Regions from separate parts of the Homo sapiens genome. Here region 2 is linked to region 1. The links are contacts of gene promoters, found by promoter capture Hi-C in blood cells and fetal thymus (Javierre and others, 2016). All regions are on one chromosome and are shown on one strand. The core of a region is centred on a gene start or on the middle of the fragment in contact, and the rest is flanking DNA. Distances in the headings are between cores, read along the strand shown.

Region 1 (2,700 bases), core at 90-2,589:
GGTAACAGAGGAGCAGATCAGGCAGGGCTTTGGGTTTTACTCTGAGTTTGGGAAACCACTGGGAAGGTTTTGGGCAGAGGAGGAATTTGATCTGGCTTTCTTTTTTTAAGGTCACTCTGGCTGCTTTATGGGGACAGGCTGCAGGGATATCAGGGAAGAGACCACTGTCATGACCCAGGTAGCAGATGATGGAGGCAGAGGTAAGAAGTGGTCAGGCTCTGGGTATGCTAGGGAGATCCAACCAACAGAATTTTTGGGCCCTGGAGGTGGGATGTGAGAGAAAGGTTTCTGAAACAGCAAGGTTTCTGGCCTTGACAACTGGAAGATGGAGTTGCCATCGAGATGGTGATGCTATGGGGAAGAGATCAGGGGCACAGATTTGGATGTGTTGAGATTGAAATGTATTTTAGAGATCCAAGAGGAGGTATTAAGGAGGCAGCTGGATAGAGGAGTATGGAGTTCAGGAGGCAGGTCCCGCCTGGAGATAAAAATTCAAAGCCAAGCCTTCTCTCTTTGCACTCAACAAAACCTCACTTAAACAGGCTTGTCAGGTCATGGAATACGGTACTAGAACTCTTTGTTGGGGAAAATGCCAGTCAACCTTACCCGTCAGAACGCTGCCTTTAAGATCAGAGATCTCTTTCCTTCAGCCTAATCCACCCCTCTCCCTGTTTTCTCCCCTAGCCCCACTAGGCTAGAAGCTCCCTGGCTTCTCCCACATCAGGATCCCCAACAAACCCATTCCCAGGTGGATAAGAGCCCAGGCAGTTCCCTAGACCACGTTCACTACTTCCTAGCTACCCAAGAGCAGGACATCGCAGACACCGGCCTCCTGGAATATTCCCTCCGCTCCTCACATTTACAGGAAGGACTCAGGTAAGCCTCGGCGCCAGTTCAGTCGGCCCGGGGCCACTAAATACCAATGGGATCCAGTGGGTTCTACGTGGTGAGTGGGGGGCGGATAAGAGAGATGCGACACCCCCCGGGCCTGCCCCCCCCACGCCGGGGCCAGGCACACCGTGAGGGGGCCAGGCACACCGTGAGGGGGCCCAGCCACTTCCATACGCCCTCCGGTCGGCCGGCACCCACCACCCACCCCTCGCCACCAAGCTGGGTGCAGAGAACAGGGCAGGCGCACGGACGGTTCTTACGGCCCCAGGCGCCAGACCCAGGGCACAGAGGCCAGGATCTCACGCGCGACCGCACGAGGCCGGGACCCTCCCTCCCCTTCCGTCCACTCCCTTCCCCACCGCCTCCGGTCCCCTCCCGGTCTCCGCCACCCCGCTTCGGGGCCCCCGCCCCCCAGCCGGGCAGCCAATCGGAGCTGGGATCCCGCCCCGGTCCGCAAAGCCGGTGGCGCCCGGAGGCTGCACGGAGAGCGGTGCCCGCGTCAGGTGAGGCGCGCGCGGGGAACGGGGGTCGCGCGCAGGGGAGCGGGGGTCGCGCGCGGCTTCCATAGAGCGCTAGGGCCTGAGCTCGAAGCCCCAGGCCCGCAGGAGGCCCGGGCCCGCGGCCGCCAGAGCCGGGACGCAGCCTGGGCGCCGCCTGCCCCGCCCCGCCCCGCCCGGGCCCGGAGTGAGGACGCGGTCGGAGGCCCAGCAGCGCGGGTCCCGGCAAGGGGCTTTCTCAACTACACAAAAGACAGTCTAAAAAATTAAGTCTCCATTTCGGTTAAGACTGCCCGTAGTTTCGGTTTTTATGTAGACCCAAGAGGGCAGGCTCGGCGTCCGCGTGCCGCGTAGTCCGGCGGCTCCAGGAGCGCGAGCGGCTGGGCCCGGGCGTAGCCACCGCAGGGCCGCTAGCTCGGCCGGGACCCGCCTGGGATGCCCTGGGGTCTGCTCCGCTGGGGCGAATCCTGAGGCGCCACGCGAGGCACTTGGCCTCTCCTAGCCCCGCTTTCGTTTTTGGAAACTGGAAACTATCACTTATTTCGTAGACGGTGTGAGGGTTACATGACAGTGTTCTGTAAAGTGCACTCTACATATGAAGTGCTCAGAAATATGGCTAATAATGAGGGTATTTATAAACTACTTAAATTATAAAAAGAATGAGACATCAGACTTACAGTTTTGGATACTAATTTTTTTCACTTAACGTTCATTATGTGATAGGAGTTTTCCATCCTATTATACCGCTGTGCGATCTGATCTTGGGCACGTTAACCAACCTCTTGTTGCCTCGATTTTCTCACCTGTAAAAGTGGGGGTAATCATAATGCTTACTTAGTAGGATAGCCCTGAAGAATAAGTGACTTAGCGAACATAAATAGCTTACAATAGGGTTTTCAGCATGGGAAGGATTCAGTAAATGTTAGCTGTCATCATCACCACCTACAAAGGAAGCAATACTGTGCTGAAAGTTTTTCCATCATTAATGTAATTTCTATAGTACGATTCCCAAGAAGATATTAAAATTATGGAAATAAAGGTATTGGTATATTCCTAATTATTTCCTAAAAGATTGTATTGATAAATATGCTCATCCTTCCCTTAACGGGATGCATTCCAGAAAAACAAGTCAAATGTTAGACAAAGTATCAGAAGGGAAATTCTGTAGCCAGAGAGCTAAAAATTACAATAGGGTCTCTAATTATACTTCAACTTTTTTAGGAATAATTCTCAGTGTGTTTTCCCACATTTCATATGTAATTTTTTTTTTTTTTTTTTTTTGAGACAGAGCCTCGCCCTGTCACCAGGCTGG
Region 2 (2,700 bases), core at 18-2,517, 840 kb before region 1:
GGTTTCACTGTGTCAGCCAGGATGGTCTCGATCTCCTGACCTCGTGATCCGCCTGCCTTGACCTACCAAAGTGCTGGGATTACAGGCACGAGCCAACACACCCAGCCAGGAAACTTCTTAAGTATAAATATTTTAACAATCAGGATGTGGTGGCATTATTATAATTTTTAAAACACAGAAAAATCAGAACTTTGCTAAAATCTTTTTCTTATAAGTTAAAACATAACATGTCACTTCCTGCCGATACCAGTGTGGACGGTGCGAAGAGTGGCTGGGTCGTTTCTTCGGTTCTCCCCATCCCCTACTTTCCTCCCTCCATTGTCAACTGTTGCTCACCCTTCCCAGACTCCCCAGCCCCTCCCTAGCTCCTTCCTAATCTCGGTGCCACCTTTTCCTTTTTCTCTGCTCAGCCCGTGTTAGGGTGAAGCCTGGAGGAACCCCGGGCGCTGTACCAGAGGAGAAAAGACAAGGATGACCCTCAGCCCACCAGCCCAATCACTGGGTTCACCACCTCCATAGCAATGAGACTGATGCTGCTCACCTGTTCTGGCCACATATGGCCCGTGGCTGACTTGGCCTTCAGTGGCATCATGCCTTAGGGGCTTTTTTTTCCCTCAAGACAGAATCTTGCTCTGTCGCCCAGGCTGGAGTGCAGTGGTGCAATCTTGGCTCACTGCAAACTCCGCCTCCCAGGTTCAAGTGATTCTCCTGCCTCAGCCTCCCGAGTAGCTGGGATTACAGGCGCGCGCTATCACTCCTGGCTAATTTTTGTATTTTTAGTAGAGACGGGGTTTCACCATGTTGGCCCAGCTGGTCTCGAACTTCTGACCTCAGGTGATCCGCCTGCCTTGGCCTCCCAAAGTGCTGGGATTACAGGCGTGAGCCACTGCGCCTGGCCAGTCTTATGAGTATTTCTAAATCAGTGCTTGCAAAGACGGCAAACCTATGCTATGCCAGGGAGATACAGGAGACTGGATTGGAACAATTTTGGGTCATAAAGATGCTGTCTGGAATGCAACACTGAATAAGGATGCCACCAAAGCAGCCACAGCAGCTGCAGATTTCACAAAGTGTGGGATGCTATCCCAGGAGATGAACTGATGACCCTGGCTCATAAACACATTATCAAGACTATGGATTTCATGCAGGATAGTAATTATTTGTTAACCAGGGGACAGAATAAACTGTTTTGCATATATGACTTGAACAAACCCGAAGCAGAACCTGAGGAAATTAGTGATCACAGCTCTGATATTAAAAAGGCCCTATGGTACAGTGAGGATAAACAGATTCTTTCTTCTGATGACAAAACTGTTAAGACTTTGGGATCATGCTACTATGACAGAAGTGAAATCTCTAAATTTTATTATGTTGGCTAGTAGTATGGAATATATTTCTGAGGGAGAGATTTTGGTAATAACTTATGGCTGATCCAGTGCTTTTGACAGTACAGTAAGTTTGGAACCAATTAAATCCTTTCAAGCTCCTGCAAACATTAACTCTGAATCTCTTCACCTTGAGAAAGAATTTCTTGTTGCAGGTGGTGAAGATGTTAAACTTATAAGTATGATGATAATAGTGGAGAAGAATTAGAATCCTACAAAGGACACTCTGGTCCTATTCACTGTGTGAGATTTGATCCTGATGGAGAACTCTATGCCAGTGGTTCTGAAGATGGAACACTGAGACTGGCAAACTGTGGTAGGAAAAACATATGGCCTTTGGAAATGTGTGCTTCCTGAAGAAGATACTGGTGAGCTGGCAAAGCCAAAGATTGGTTTTCCAAAGACAAGAGAAGAGCTAGAAGAAATTGCTTCAGAGAATTCAGATTCCATCTATTCTTCAACTCCTCAAGTTAAGGCCTGAACATCAAGCATGTGCCACAGACAGCATACAACTGGACTAGAACGAGCAAGCAGAGAAAAGCATCAGCCTTCCAGAGTTACTCTCTGCTTAAGGCAAAAACAGCAATAAATAATGAGGAATATGAATTAGCTCCATTGCTGAAACAACTAACATGGTGTTACCCATAAGTGAAATCTCAAGAGTATCAGATGAAGGGAGGTTGAGTTATCCTCTTGTAGTACAATGGCCTGTCATCTTTTTAATGAATATGTACAAGATAACATCCAACTTCTCTTATTACAATTAAGAGTTCTTGCAGCTGTTTATGTCATTATGGAGAAGAAAAATATATTGGCTTATTTGTCTGACTTTTCCCTTAAAGCAGAATGTCTTTGTTGCTATTGTTTTTTGCTTTGGTTGTAAAGAGGGAATACATGATAAAGTAACTGGTTTAATTTCTTTCATTGTACACTGGTTCTGAACATCTAATTATTTTTAGTTGTCTAAATAAAATGCCTCTGAAACAAAAAATAAAACAAATCATAACATATCATGTAATAACAATGTGAAATCTTTGGAAGACTCATTAATATATAAAAGAAAAATGAAAAAGTGCTTTAAGAGCCTAAGATTAAGTTTACCATTTAAATCCAGGCCTAAGATTTTTAATAACCTTAACGTTACGTGAAAAATGTACTGTGAAGGCTCATCTGTTAAACGGAGTTACGAAGTTTTTTATTATTATTCAGCCATAAAAAAATGAAATCCTGTCATTTGCAGCAACATGGATGGAACTCGAGGTCATTACGTTAAGCAAAATAAGCCAGGCACAGAAAGATAAATATTGCATGTTGT

What was found. Contacts are between HindIII fragments. The CHiCAGO score rates a contact against its expected background, and 5 or more counts as called.
Region 2: a fragment that was not itself captured here is called in contact with the fragment with the promoter of BLVRA in region 1 in 2 of 17 cell types (naive CD8 T cells and total CD8 T cells); the score reaches 6.7 in naive CD8 T cells.

Annotation. Positions count from the first base shown.
Region 1 is chr7:43,757,341-43,760,040 of GRCh38, forward strand. BLVRA (biliverdin reductase A) reads left to right here and starts at 1,340. Exons shown (of 8, transcript NM_000712.4): 1 at 1,340-1,394. It also overlaps the pseudogene LOC107986727. RefSeq lists a cis regulatory region at 1-23 and silencers at 1,045-1,434, 1,445-1,764. The HindIII fragment of the contact is 5,653 bases long and covers 1-2,700 here.
Region 2 is chr7:42,918,226-42,920,925 of GRCh38, forward strand. All of the region lies in intron 6 of PSMA2 (proteasome 20S subunit alpha 2), which reads right to left. It also overlaps the pseudogene LOC105375252. Among named protein-coding and RNA genes, the nearest start is that of C7orf25, 7.5 kb to the left of the region's middle. The HindIII fragment of the contact is 3,619 bases long and covers 1-2,700 here.